2 separate regions of the Homo sapiens genome follow, and region 2 is linked to region 1. Evidence: promoter capture Hi-C in human tissues and cell types (Jung and others, 2019). All regions are on one chromosome and are shown on one strand. Each heading gives the region's core, a stretch centred on a gene start or on the middle of the fragment in contact. The rest is flanking DNA. Distances are from core to core; before and after follow the strand shown.

The links. Contacts are between HindIII fragments. The study calls those that stand out against the background at their distance.
Region 2: a contact is called between a fragment that was not itself captured here and the fragment with the promoter of ERMN in region 1, in 2 of the 25 tissues and cell types used here (adrenal gland and bladder).

The regions. Positions count from the first base shown.
Region 1 is chr2:157,321,643-157,329,422 of GRCh38, reverse strand. It overlaps ERMN (ermin), which reads left to right and starts at 3,599. Exons shown (of 3, transcript NM_020711.3): 1 at 3,599-4,021; 2 at 4,661-4,753; 3 at 7,632-7,780. The coding sequence starts at 3,781. RefSeq lists an enhancer at 3,166-3,715. The HindIII fragment of the contact is 5,881 bases long and covers 1-5,490 here.
Region 2 is chr2:157,277,858-157,285,637 of GRCh38, reverse strand. GALNT5 (polypeptide N-acetylgalactosaminyltransferase 5) reads right to left here. Exons shown (of 10, transcript NM_014568.3): 2 at 1,190-1,356. Among named protein-coding and RNA genes, the nearest start is that of GALNT5, 24 kb to the right of the region's middle. The HindIII fragment of the contact is 5,149 bases long and covers 2,140-7,288 here.

The sequences.
Region 1 (7,780 bases), core at 2,350-4,849:
CATTGTGTAAAGTCAAATCCCTTCTGATTGATCAATCAATTGATCGATTGATAGATGGATTGCTCCATCTCTTAGTGGTTCTGCCTTTCCCTTCCAACCCTAATTGAAACAATACCCCTGTCCCAACTATGTAAGTCAATGTTTGTTTAAGATTGGCTTCAAGCTGCCAGGATCAACATTTTTCTTTTAAATGTATTTCTTGTTTTTATTCAGTGCTCTGTGACCATCTCTTAGCCATAACATTAGCTTGTGGCTTGGCTTTTCACATATGATTAAGATTAAAGATCAAGATTTTATGACTTTTCCCCAAATCCTGATTCTGGACCTAAGATAGCCTTAACATTAAGCATTTGGTATTGGACAAATGGAAAGTGAATATTTACATAATTTTATTTTGATTCTTTATATTCTTATATGAAAATCTTTTCATTACCTTTTTTTTGGCTTTAGATTTAATAATGGTTACATTTGTACAATGTCCTTTAGCATTAAGAATAATAACTAGGGGCCAGGTGTAGTGCTTTATGCCTGTAATCCCAGCACTTTGGGAGGCCAAGGCGGGTGGATCACCTGAGGCCAGGAGTTCGAGACCAGCCTGACCAACATGGAGAAATCCTCCCCGCTACTAAAAATACAAAAATTAGCCAGGCATCAAGGCGCATGCCTGTAATCCCAGCTACTCAGGAGGCTGAGGCAGGAGAATCTCTTGAACCTGGGAGGCAGAGGTTGCAGTGAGCCGAGATTGTGCCACTGTACTCCAGCCTAGGTGACAAGAGCGAAATTCTTCTAAGGAAAAAGCCACAAGATCCAGTAAACTACATAAAATAAAACAGTCATGTTTCATACAGTGAACATTCTGCAATTGTATTTGAAGTAAGGATGATAGTGCAAATTCTAACATACTTTCTAAGTCATAGGTTGTTACAAATAATGGGAGACAACTTACCTCTTTATGAACAAAATAGCCTATGTTTTATCTAGTAGTTGGATAGACTCATCTTGTTGCTAAATGTGTCTCATGTTGCCGTCTACTTGTAGGAAAAAATAATACACGTTACAAACCATTTACCCGACCTCCATTATTCCCTAGGGCAGCATAAAAGCATGTTTTTAAATAAATGTAAACACATGGTTAGCCAAGGATGACAGAACTCTGGATCATTTCTCTATCTTTCCAAAACTGAAATAATTTTAAGGCCATAAAAAATGTCACAGCATGGTTTTAGAAAGAAGGCAATCCAAAAATAAAGACACGAATTCCCATAAAAGCTAGGCTATGGGTATGAGGTGCCCGTTGCCATGGGGTAATAGAAATCTAGGAGTAGGAGAGACAATGAATCTGAACTGTCTCAACTTTGCTATGTCCCTGGATTGAGGTACTTGGCAGCCCCGAGGGAACGGAGTGATTGGAGGCATGACCTTTGGAGCTAATGTATTTCTGTACTCCTGTGTTTATCGCAGGGCATTTGGTTGAATTAGTGCCACTTCCTGCCCTAAGGATCTCACAATCTAGTATGTCCCCATTTGTTCCTAAGCTTGGTCTTAGTTTCTGCATTCTCCCATATGATTCCACTCAATATCTTCTCAACAGTAAGCTTGTAGTTGAATTTCTTGGGAGGACGCTCCCAGAACATCATCCTCAGCAGCTGCAGGGTGTCTCTGGGGCAGGTCTTGAGACTGCCTTAGGCTCTCTGCTGCCCTCTCCTGGCCACAACTGTCTCTACTGCCAAGGTGCTAATGCCGAACCCCTGTGGGATCTCTGGTCCAAGGAAACATCTGCACACAGGCCAGGGATGGCGCTTAGCTTCATCTGTGCTGCAAACTCTCATCAGTAGGCTTGCTGGCTCTGTGACCTTACTAGCTGAACTCCTTAATCTCTCTGCACTTCATTTTTCTAGTCTATAAAATGGAGATAACAACAGCACCTACCTCAGAAGACTGTTATGAAGAGTAAGTGTATTACTATTTATGAGTCAATTAGGACAGTAGCTTGCACATAATAAGTGTGATATGAGCGTTTGTTAAAACAGTTAAACAATCAAACAAACATAGAATTAGAGTGCTGACTAGAGAACAGCTGGTGATGACGCGGGAGGGAGATCTAGGATCTATTAGAGATGTCTTCCAAGGACAAGGGAGAGGGGATTATACAAGAGTGAGGTGTTGTCCCTGATATAGACCTGAATGGGCTCAGCCCTAGACACACTTTTAAAGGTGATATGCTTACTACAACTCTTCAACACCTATTCTTCTTCTCTTTAAAAATGATCTGAAATTTATTCTCTTGGGGATAAAATTTATTGTATATATTATATATATAATATAATTCTTGTTATGTATGTGTATATATATAATTATTTGTGTATATATGTGTATATATATAATTATTTTTATTGCGTGCTACTATTCCAAGCCAGATGCTAAGTGCTGGGGACACATGTAAGCAAGTTAAACTGGCCCCTCGCCAGATGAAACTTAGTTTGCAGTTGGTGAAACAGACATTACAGAGATAATTGTGCAGTTGCTTATTTAGTTACAACCATGAAGAATACTCTGAAGGGCAAAGACAATGTGTAACAGAGTCCTGTCCTAATCCTGGCGGTTAGAGATAGTGTAGTTAAGGAGATGATATTTAAGCTTAAAAACAGAACTTAGGGAAGCTGGTCAGCCCAGGGCTTGGGCTTGAGGAAGAGAAGGGCATTTCACATAGAAGGAGCTGTGTGGGCAAAGGCTCTGGAACCATTTTGTACTATGAGAAATCCAAAAAAGAAAAAGATTTAAAAAGGAAGGGGTGGTCAGTAGCAGTCATTTAACATAATCACCTGTTTCTCCCAAGGGCAGATTGCATTGGTCCTCTACATTTTACCAGCATTGTGTAATATCAGTATGGAATAGAAAGGATTGTAATTCTGATTGGGGGAGGAGAAACCTTCATGGCGATAATTTTATTAGGGTTTTAAAGGATCGGCTGGGCTTCAGCAGACATAAACTAGAGGATAAGAAGCTATAGACTAAGTAAATTACTCTGAAATTATAAAACTTTTGGTATTAGCAAGTTGGTAGAATTTGTTTATTTCATAGGTCCCTTCTCCAGCCTGCTGGAAGCACACCATCAAATCTGCAGCCAGAACCATTTACAGTAAAGTTGTCCTGTTTATAGGTTTTTTCCATAAGCTGTTTTATTTTTTAATAAATAAGAAACAATGCCATTGTCCTTTACAAAATAGCTGAGGTTTTACTTGAACAAAATCTGTTTGGAAATGTTAAGCTGGTTACACAGAACTAATATGCCTCAAGGTGGTCATTCTCTCTGGATTAAAGCTGTGGGACAATTGTGGCTCCTGTTACAGGGAAAATTACAATGGGCCATTATGAAAAGGGACAAAAATCTCTGTTCCCAGAGGGGGACTGACAAGCTGAAAGTCCCTCTCTACATGCCAACACAAAAGCCTGATTGCTTCAGATTGTTTGTTTATGTAAATCAAAAGGATGCCTTTAACTCTGCCAGGGAACTGGCAAGCAACAAAGAAGGTGGTGATTGGCTGGATTCTTGCTCATGGCTCCTGGCAGATCTGACAAATCCTCTTGCTTTTGCTCTAATCTCTGTCTGGATACTTTTAGGAAAAGAACCTTGTTATTATGTACTAAAGTGAATAATTTGTGCTCTTAGAGTAGGAGTTGGAACTATAGGACTTGAAGGCAAGAGCAGGTATCTTATCAAGGATCTACTCACTCAGTTTCCCTAAAGCTCTCTCTCCAGATCGGATTCAACCGCACATCATGACAGATGTTCCGGCTACATTTACCCAGGCTGAGTGTAATGGGGATAAACCACCTGAAAACGGTCAACAAACAATCACTAAAATCAGTGAGGAATTGACTGATGTGGACAGCCCCCTGCCACACTACAGGGTAGAACCCAGTCTGGAAGGTGCACTCACCAAAGGAAGTCAGGAGGAAAGAAGAAAATTACAAGGGAACATGCTGCTCAACTCATCCATGGAGGACAAAATGCTAAAAGGTAAAGTGTTTCCCTTCTCCTTAATTTTCTTGTTTTGACTTATAAATTTACCCTGGATTTTTTTGATAAACTATTATCGAAATGAGCTGGACACCCCAAAAATGTAGCCCTTTATTCTACTACGCATAGTATAAGGACTAAACCTCTGCCTCTGGTGAAATCCAGGCTGGTCTATTTGACAGCTGTGACCCCAGACAACTTTCTGTCTCCCGAAGCCTGAGTTTTTTTCACTAGAAGAAGGCGGAATAATAATAATAACTACAAGTCTAGGGTAAGTATTGGCTAAATGTTAACTACTGTATTTATTATGATTATGGACAGCCCCATATTATTTGAACAAAGAGAATTCAAAATGTTAAAATTTCCTTCTAAATATAACTGAAGTTCTCTGAATTTATGGTTCTATATCTTATATATATATCTTATATAAATATTAAAGGAGAGATTACAATCAATAAAGTGATCATTAAGTAAATAAATTGAATTGATAAAGAATGAATCCAAAGAGTGAAATAGTAAATTTTAATGATCAGATTTAAAATTAAAGACTTCTACCTAGAGTTTAAATTGATAACTTATTAACTGTTGAACAATAAATATTTTAAATGTTAAAATACTGATTTTATATTTTTTTCCTAGAAAACCCAGAAGAGAAACTCTTTATTGTTCATAAGGCTATCACAGATCTTTCTCTCCAAGAAACTAGTGCTGATGAAATGACATTCAGAGAAGGTAACAAGAACTACAGTTTTGTACACAGAAATTGTTTGACTGAGTATGGATGACAGTCTTTCCATGAAATGTTGCATGAGCGTGGGGTTGACAAAGCAATCCAGGCAATGACTTCAAATTTTCAAAGCTGCTGTAGGCAGATAAGAGAGTCTTAACTTATCTGTGGGTTCCACCTTATAAAGCATTCCAGACTGTTCAAGGCTGAGGCTGCATGGAATGGCATAGCTGATTGGCATACCAACGTGATGTCTATCTCTTAAGTTAGTCCACTGAGTCAACCCTACTTTTTGATTTGGTGTGTCCAAATCTGTGTGTGCACCTTGTGAAAGGTAAATGTTTCAAAAACGGGTCTTTCCTAAAAGTCTACAATTAACATACAGCTTTTTTTTTTTTTTTTGAGACGGAGTGTCACTCTTGTTGCCCAGGCTGGAGTGCAATGGTGCAATCTCGGCAGACTGCAACCTCTGTCTCCAGGGTTCAAGCGATTCTCCTGCCTCAGCTTCCTGAGTAACTGGGATTACAGGCACCTGACACCACGCCCAGCTATTTTGTGTGTGTGTGTGTGTGTGTGTGTGTATTTTTAGTAGAGACGGAGTTTCACCATGTTGGCCAGGCTGGTCTTGAACTCCTGACCTCAGTTGATCCACCTGCCTTGGCCTCCCAAAGTGCTGGGGTTACAGGCGTGAGCCACTGTGCCCGGCCAACATACAGTTTAAAGTAATCTCACGAAATGATTTACTTTATAGGCCTCTAATGTAAATACAAAATTGTTAACTATTTCATGTCAAAGAAAGACAGGGTGATAAAGTTAATTTTAATTGTGTTCTTTAAGAAAATGGAAGAATAAAAAGAACATTGAAGTGATTATGTTAAATTTTAAATAAACTTAATAGACTAAGAGACACAAAATCCTTTAGATTTTTCTAAGACACCTACATTTAAACAGTTCCCAAATAAAGTGTAGGATAAAATCTATTAATTAATCATTTCTTTCCTCTCTTGCAGCCATACACATCTTATGTCAAATTGAAGTCAGCTTGCTAAACCTAACCAATTTAGCTTTGTTAGGACTTTAACAGGCAAAATATTGAAGAGACTATTGGTTGAAATATTAGAACATCACATAAAATAGTAGATGTCAAGGAGGACAGGAATGTGATTGGCTATTTCCTACATCTGCTCCCTTTGCCTGAACACCTCTCATACTATGTCTGCTTAGCAGTGTAGCAACACTTAAGGAAATATGTAGCAAGCAATAGACAGTGTCAAGCTGTCACATTACCAGAGATAATTTTTAAGACTTAAGACTTCACAATATGAACTTAATAACCTCTTTGCCCTAATTATTCTGCTTCCAATGTAACAAGTTCTCAGAGGCAGAATCTCAACCTCCTATCATCTAGAGCCCCTTTCAAATGTTTGATCAGGAGTCCATTGCAGGTAACAGTTGTCTAGATCTTTCATTTTCATCAAATGGAGAATGAAAGCAGGCTGTAGTTTTCAGCTAGATGGTCTCGCTGGTTAAGTTTTCCCTCAATGAATCCTTTCCTGTTTGATGGAGTATGTTTTTCCTCCATAATAGAGGCACAGATTTTGGTGTGTTTTATCTTCACAGTGGCAAACAGCTATAAAATCTTCAAAAAGAATGTTACTGGATTAAAACATATAAAGATGCTAAAAATATTGAGGAAAAACTATAATTTAAATTCAAGGAGTAATTTTATATGTGACAATCTCATGGCTGAGTCATGAATATAAACAAAATATCACTTACTTTGGTTCTTGTGGAAAACAAAATAAAACAAAGCATAAGATTATGGCAAACATTCTAATGTGTATTTATGGATAATGTTAGGAACATTGACGGGACACTAGCGACCTGATAGCAGCTGTGTGTAACAAATTAGGGTGATCACCCATCTTTACTTCTATCTCTGTAAGTTTACTATGTATTCCCTAGAGTGAGAAAACAACAAAAAAATAAGAGAACTGAACACCTTGGATGAAAATGGAATTGTGAACATCTTTCGGAGAGAGTAGAATATTGTGGAGGAAAAAGACAAAGAGGAACATTGCCTCTCACCTTACTTATAGACTCTCACGGTGTCAAAAGAAAATGGTGAACTCAGGCCTGACAAGGGGTGTAACCCAGACAGATTTCTGAGTTGTGTACACCACAGACTGAAACTTCCCACAGAAGCCTTGCAGGGCTGAAGGCTCAGAGAACAACCTCAGCTTCCTTATAATTAATTCTTACCATATTCAATAAATATTGTTGAGGGTATGTTGGTATGATCTAGCTGTTTGAAAAGTGACCAGACATGGACAGTCATCATTTTCAGTATTGGAAACGAGCATTTTTTTCTTTCTGAAGTATTTTTCTAATTTTCCTTGAGGTGTGTGTGTGTGTGTGTGTGTGTGTGCGTGTGTGTGTGTATGTGTGAGAAAAAGATAAGTCCAAACATTTCCTTTTACATGTGCACGTATCCAGTTGTGACTGGCTAGACAAGAATTTTTTTTTTTAAGTGTGTCTCAGGGAACACCAGTCTCACTAAATACAGTAGTCCACAACAGAGTTCCATAGACAAATGAAGTTAGGTTGTTGACTTTCTTACAGATTTACAATACTCGTTAGCATTTCAAAGGCTTGTAAAAATTCTGAAGATGCTTATTTAACTGTATTTAATGCAGTGTTTTTGAAATTAATTTGGCTGTGTAGCCTGTTTGTGCAAAACATATTGGTAACCCACAGAATCATATCCCATAAAACATGTGTTGGGAAGTGATTAGCAAGAAAAATTATTTGGAGAATAACAGACTAATGGCTGGGTATTTTGGAATCTCTACACATCTCATCTACCAATTGATTTTGCTACAGGGCATCAGTGGGAGAAGATTCCTCTGAGTGGCAGTAACCAGGAAATAAGAAGACAGAAGGAGAGGATTACTGAGCAGCCTCTCAAAGAGGAAGAAGATGAGGACAGGAAGAACAAAGGTCACCAGGCAGCTGAAATTGAATGGCTGGGA
Region 2 (7,780 bases), core at 3,465-5,964, 45 kb after region 1:
CCAAGGAAGAGGCTAAACAATGTGTGCAAATAAGACCCTTTCATTCTCTACTCTGACATCCCCTTCCATTACACCTTTTCTCTCTTATTAGATGGCCATGGAGGGATCCAGCTAAAGGAACAGTTTTCCGGGGGCTTTATGAGCTATGTTTATGTGACTTACAGTCATTTCTGTGTGTAATCAAGCTATTGACAGCTATCCTAGGTTGGAATGGCTTCCAGAAAACTTTCTAAGAAAGTTTTTCTTAGACAGGACCCTGAAAACTGAATAAGCTTCAGGTCCCACAGAATCTGGACCTGCCCCTCATAAAGGGACTCCTATCTACTTACTAATTGGGTACTATTCCTGTTTATGCTTCCAAGGCCACATTTTATGTTTTTCAGCCAGTTTTTCTCTATCATCCCACAGCTTCTTGAGCTCAGTGTGATTATGGCAGAAACTCTGAAGCTAAAGAAACTTCCCATGTTGCTGTGGTCACAGCTCAAGGGTAAGCTGTTCCATTAGCATTGCCAAGTCTTTGCTATTTTCTAAACTTTTCTGAAAAATGGGTTCCATTTGGGAATTTGTAATGTGGCTGTCAGACCACCTACATACACAGGTTATTTGACAACCCAAAGAGTGAGATTCTTCACTGTAATAAGCAAAAATGAACATAAAGGCTATGGTGGATTCTGGTTTTGAACTTTGTTGGAATCACCTCATCTCTCTTGTCCTATTGGCAATTTGTCTTCTTAACACTTAACTGAACACATCATATGCCTTGCTCTCAAGGAAGAAGCCATAAGATCTTAATTTCTTTGCCTTCCATAGAGTCTAACTGTAACTCTAGTTATTACCAGTAGGCAAGGCCTCCCGTTAATTGTGATTCCATTAAAAGGGATTTGTGCAATTGTAGAGGACATCTAAACTCCACTACTTCTAAGTGCCCATCTCCAAGGAGCCATAGTTAGATCATTCCAACATGGTAGCAGAGTTACAACTGAGACAACTAACTGAACAGAGCTCCAGATGACTTTTAACGTCCATAGATGCTTAGACTTATGTCTCTGAGGCTCCACGTAAAACAAAGCATTTGTACGATGTTTATGCTTCATCAAATTATCCTATAATTTTGCCATCCAAACTGCTACTAAACTTTGCTTCTGCCAAACTTTGAAATTTCAAGAGATAGCCTGAGTGGTTTTCTTACCTTTGGTGCTGAAGTCATCTACCAGCAGAATCTCCTTGATGAGGTGTGGAGGAGAGCGATTGATGACACTGTGAACAGATCTCAGGAGAGTGGACCACACTTCATCCACAAAGCACATGATGACACTGGTGGTTGGGAGGTTATTGTGAACTAGCTGCTCTGCACATCTGGGCCAGAATATAAGCAGAGCACAAGAGATGTGCTAAGGAGATCCACAAGATAGTTTTAAAAGTCACAGAGTGCGATGGTGTGCATATACACACACACTTAATCTGTCATCGATCTGTCTGGTCTATCTATCATCTATTTATATATACCAATGATGATTTTATTATTTATCATGTGCCTTTTTTTGGGGAGGGGTACATGCAAAATAAAAAAGCAGAAGAATTACCCGTAACCGTGGTTGTTATAAAAGGACTAGAAATGCAAGACATGAGAATGTCCCATGCAGACATCACACTGCAGTGGAAAGGACAGGGTTTACAGGTAGTTAGACTCTATTTCAAATCTCATGGCCAATATTTCTCAGGTCTTTAACCATTAATGCCTTCTTTAACTTCTCTGTGCCTCAGTTTCCTCATCTGCAGAATGAGGTAATAAATGGTTCTTATTCAATAGAGTTTTGTAGCCTAGTGATAATGTACATACAAAGCCTAGCAGGGTTCCTGGCACAGGAATTTATGAAATGGTAGTTATTGCTATCATTACTAGATTATATGCTAGAAGATAGCATTCTGACTTATTTAATGTTCCCAAGTGGTTTATGATTGCCTTTCCAACTGGCTGTCTGCCAACTGCCATGGGATTTATTCTTTTCTCCCATTCTGCTTGTGTATGTACTTATGGCATAATATATATGTGCCAAATAATTAAACTCTTTTTAGCTTCCGTATCCGGGGCTTCCTTGCTGATACTCTGCTACAGAATAGCCACAGTTGAAAAACCATTTTGCTGGCATAGGAATGCAATCCAGGCTACAGTGGGAGTTAGTATTCAGGTGGGTTGCAACTGGCCTGGGTTTTTTCCCATGCCCTGCAGAATACACTGCCTCACTGCTGGCATTCTTTCACCCCCTGCCTGTGCCACTCTTCATAAGCAGTGCCCAGTGGAACCTCACAAAATGTATTTGCCATCTTACTAACACAGCTACTGTCAGTAATGTGATAATTAATGATGATCATAAATATTATAAGCATTCTATATTATTTCAATGTCGACCTCAAATTACCAGCATCTCTTTCCCTTTTTATTGGTGAATAATCAAAATCATGGAAAGACTAGTCCATGATTCTGCAGTTAGTAAATGGCAGAGCTGGGACTCGAACACTGATCCAGTCTGGCTCCAAAAGTAACCATTGAGGAAGCCTTAGATCCACAAGAATAGAAGCAGCTGGCAGTAGATGCGACATTTTGTGAGAGCTGGCACTTCTGCCAAATAACATGGTTATACTTTACTTATTCCATAAATAAGAAATAGGTAAGAGCAAAAACGATAGTAAAGCAAATCACATTTGCATGACACTCTAGTGTTGCCAAAGTGCTATTCTGTACATAATTGAATTCAGTCTTCATAACAACTGCTTGAGATACATATTATTATACACTTCTTCAAATCTTGGGAAGTTAAATGACTTACCCACATCATCCACCTAGATAGGATATATAAGGAAATATGAACAAATAATGTTTTTACTTTACTGCTGGTTTTTTTTGTAGAATGGGCTTTGGAAATAGATATGTGCTCAAATATCAGTTTTTCTAATTACTGATTTGGAACAGCTTTACTACTTCTTTGAACCTCAATTTGCCAACTACAAAGCTGAAATTAAACATGTACCTATAAGATTACATATAAACATTATGTAAAACTCATCTAATATATATCTGACACATAGGGGGTACTTAAGAAATGGTAGACAAATCCAGCTGTGCTTCATAATTTCAATGGTTTCCTAGATGGTTGTTTATCATAATAATTGACAAAGCCTTAGAAAAACATAAATATCCAATCCTCAGCCCCAGAAAATCAATTTACAAGGTTTGCTGAGGGCCCAAGAATCCATGTCTTAAAATACAAACAAATAAAAGAAAACACAAAGAAACCAACCCACCAACAAACAAAAGAATGACTCACAAATCATTGATTGGTGAGTTTAAGAACTTGAGCTCAAGATAAAGTTAATTTATTCTTATTATTTGAGGCTAATATTAAAAAAAATAAATTGACAGCTGATAGGAGCATGTCCTAAATGTTCAAGTGACAGAGAATTAAAATAACACATTTTGATTCACTATCTTCATGTAGTGATCAGGTATCTAATGCTAACTTAAAATATCAGACTGTCTAAACTAATATTAGTCTACACTAAGGATCCATGCATTAGCACTTCTGAATAATATGAGAAGATATTCCTCTCTTCACTTAAGAGCTTTATCAGTTTACTTTGGCCACCATAACAAATTACTGAAAATTCTGCTTAACAGTTCCTTCCTGAATGTATCTATTTTCTCTCACATTTGTACTCTGAACAGAAAGAAGATATCAGTATGCACCTTCAACATTTTGCTTGGTACTCTCCTCAGCTAAATATCCGATTTCATCATTGGCAAGTTCTGCTAATTTTCACATGACTATAGGACACAGTTAAGCCAAGCTCACTGCCACTATGTAACACGGATCATTTTCTTCCATTTCTCAATCATGTGCTCTATATTTCCTTCTAAGCCTGCACCAGAAGTACTTACAATGCTCATATTTTTGCCAACATTCTGCTCAAGATAGCATACATATTTTCAAAGATGATTGATAGAAGCTTTCTTTCTTTCTTTCTTTTTTTCTGAAATAGAGTCTTGCTCTGTCACCCAGGCGGGAATGCCATGGCGCAATTTGATAGGAGCTTTCTCTACTGTGCCGCTCACTTCCTTCTGAGCCCTCACCAACAGCATCCTTGATATTCATATTGCTACCAACAGTGACTTCAGGGCATTCTAGGCTTTTTCTATGATGCTTCACAGAATTCTTCCGGCCTCTACCTATTAGCGAATTCCTTGGTGTATTAGGCCATTTTTGTGTTGCTACAAAGAAATCCACCTGGCTGGGCACCTGTAATCCCAGCACTCTGGGAGGCCGGGGTGGGTGGATCACTTGAGGTCAGGAGTTCAAGACCAGCCTGGCCAACATGGTGAAATCCAGTCTGTACTGAAAATACAAAAATTAGCTGGGCATCGTTGCGGGTGCCTGTAATCCCAGCTACTTGGGAGGCTGAGGCAGGGAGAATCGCTTGAACCCTGGAGGTGGAGGTTGTAGTGTGCAGTGAGCTGAGATCGCACTGCTGTACTCCAGCCTGGGTGACAGAGTGAGACTTCATCTAAAAGAAAGAAAGAAAGAAAGAAATACCTGAGACTAGCTAATTTGTAAAGAAAAGAGGTTTAATTGGCTCACGGTTCTGCAGGCTGTACAGGAAGCATGGCTCTGCCATCTGCTCAGCTCTTGGTGAGGCCTCAGGGAGCTTTTACCCATGGCAGAAGACGAAGTGGGAGCAGGCATGTTACATGACAGAGCAAGCAAGAGACAGTAAGGTGAGGTCTCTGACACTTTTAACCAACCAAATCTTATATGAACTGAGGGAGAACACACATATCACCAAGGGGATGGCACTAAGTCATCCATTATAGATCTGCCTCCGTGATCCAGTACCTCCCACCAAGTCTCACCTCCAACATTGGAGGTCACATTTCAACATGAGATTTGAAGGGGACAAACATCCAAACCATATCACTTGGCTATTCCTTGGATGATACTTCTGTATTTTTGGGTACTTGTTATAGCAGCACCTCACTCCTTGATACCAAAATTTATATTAGTTTCTTCTGACTGCCATGACAAATTACCACAAACTTGGTAACATATTCTGTCACATTTCTGGGGTCCAGAATTCTAAAACCAAGATGTCAGTAGGACCTCAGTCCCTCCATATGTTGTAGGGGACATTCTGTTCCTTGCCTCTTTCAGCTTCTGCTGGCAGTCTTTGACTTGTTGAATCACTCAAATCTCTCTCTCTGTCTTCACATCACTTTCTCCTCTGTGTCTCTCTGGGTGAAACCTCTGCCTGGCTCTCTTTTATAAGGATACATGTGATTTAGGGCATTTGGGGCTTATCTGGGTAATTCAGGGTAAATGTCTCCTCTCAAGATCCTTCATCACATCTCTTGCTTCAGAAGGTAATATTCACTGTTTTTCCAGGTGAGGTAATAATCACAGGTTCTGAGAATTAGGAAGTAAATATATTTTTGGAGAACCATGTCTTTTAGCCTGACACAAGGGCTTAATGAGTTAAGGCAAGAAATAGGCTGGGTGAGGTAGCTCATGCCTGTAATGCCAGTGCTTTGGGAGGCCAAGGTGGGTGGATCATCTGAGGTCAGGAGTTCGAGACCAGCCTGACGAACATGGAGAAACCCCATCTCTACTAAAAAATACAAAAAATTGAGGTCTGTTCCAAGATGGCCAAATAGGAACAGCTCCGATCTGCAGCTCCCAGCGTGATTGACACAGAAGACGGGTTATTTCTGCATTTCCAACTGAGGTACCTGGTTCATCTCATTGAGAGTGGTTGGACAGTGGGTGCAGCCCACAGAGGGTGAGCCAAAGCAGGTTGGGGCATCACCTCACCCAGGAAGCGCAAAAGGTCTGGGGATTTCCCTTTCTTAGCCAAGGGAAGCTGTGACAGATTGCACCTGAAAAAATGGGACACTTCTGCCCAAATACTGTGCTTTTCCCACAGTCTCAGCAACTGGCAGACCCAGAGATTCTTTCCTGTGCCTGGCTTGGCAGGTCCCACACCCATGGAACCTTGCTCACTGCTAGCACAGCAGTCTGAGATCAAACTGGGAGGCGGCAGCCTGGCTCGGGGAGGGACGTCCACCATTGCTGAGGCTTGAGTAGGTAAACAAAGCAGCTCAAACTGGGTGGAGCCCACCGCAGCTCAGCAAGGCCTACTGCCTCTGTAGACTCCACCTCTGTGAGTAGGGCATAGCTGAACAAAAGGCAGCAGACAACTTCTGCAGATTTAAATGTCCCTGTCTGACCGCTCTGAAAAGAGCAGTGGTTCTCCCAGCACGGCGTTTGAGCTCTGAGAATGGACAGACTGCCTCCTCAAGTGGGTCCCTGACCCCTGTGTAGCCTAACTGGGAGACACCTCCCAGTAGGGGCTGACAGACACCTCATATAGGCGGGTGCCCCTCTGGGACGAAGCTTCAGGCAGAGGAAGGATCAGGCAGCAATATTTGCTGTTCTGCAGCCTCCACTGGTGATACCCAGGTAAACAGGGTCTGGAGTGGACCTCCAGCAAACTCCAACAGATCTGCAGCTGAGGGTCCTGACTGTTAGAAGGAAAACTAACAAACAGAAAGGAATAGCATCAACATCAACAAAAAGGACATCTACATCAAAACCCCATCTGTAGGTCACCAGCATCAAAGACCAAAGGTAGATAAAACCACAAAGATGGGGAGAAACCAGGGCAGAAAAGCTGAAAATCCTAAAAACCAGAGCACCTCTTCTCCTCCAAAGGATTGCAGCTCCTAGCCAGCGATGGAACAAAGCTGGATGGAGAATGACTTTGACAAATTGATAGAAGTAGGCTTCAGAAGGTCGGTAATAACAAACTTCTCTGAGCTAAAGGAGCATGTTTAAACCCATCAAAAGGAAGCTAAAAACCTTGAAAAAACACTAGACGAATGGCTAACTAGAATAAACAGTGTAGAGAAGACCTGAAATGGCCTGATGGAGCTGAAAACCATGGCAAGAGAACTTCGTGATGCATGCACAAGCTTCAATAGCCGATTTAATCAAGTGGAAGAAAGGGTATCAGTGATTGAAGATCAAATTAATGAAATGGGGTGAGAAGACAAGTTTAGAGGAAAAAGAGGAAAAAGAAATGAACAAAGCCTCCAAGAAATATGGGACTATGTGAAAAGACCAAATCTATGTTTGATTAGTGTACCTGAAAGTGATGGGGAGAATGGAACCAAGTTGGAAAACACACTTCAGGATATTATCCAGGAGAATGTCCCCAACCTAGCCAACATTCAAATTCAGGAAATACAGAGAACACCACAAAGATACTCCATGAGAAGAGCAACTCCAAGACACATAATTTTCAGATTCACCAAAGTTGAAATGAAGGGAAAAATGTTAAGGACAGCCAGATAGAAAGGTTGGCTTACCCACAAAGGGAAGCCGATCAGACTAATGGTGGATCTCTCGGCAGAAACTCTACAAGCCAGACGAGAGTGAGGGCCAAAATTCAACATTCTTAAAGAAAAGAACTTTCAACCCAGAATTTCATATCCAGCCAAACTAAGCTTCATGAGTGAAGGAAAAATAAAATCCTTTATAGACAAGCAAATGCTGAGAGATTTTGTCACCACCAGGCCTGCCTTACAAGAGCTCCTGAAGGAAGCACTAAACATGGAAAGAAACAACTGGTACCAGCCACTGCAAAAACAGACCAAATTGTAAAGACCATCGATGCTATGAAGAAACTGCATCAATTAATGGGCAAACTAACCAGCTAACATCATAATGAA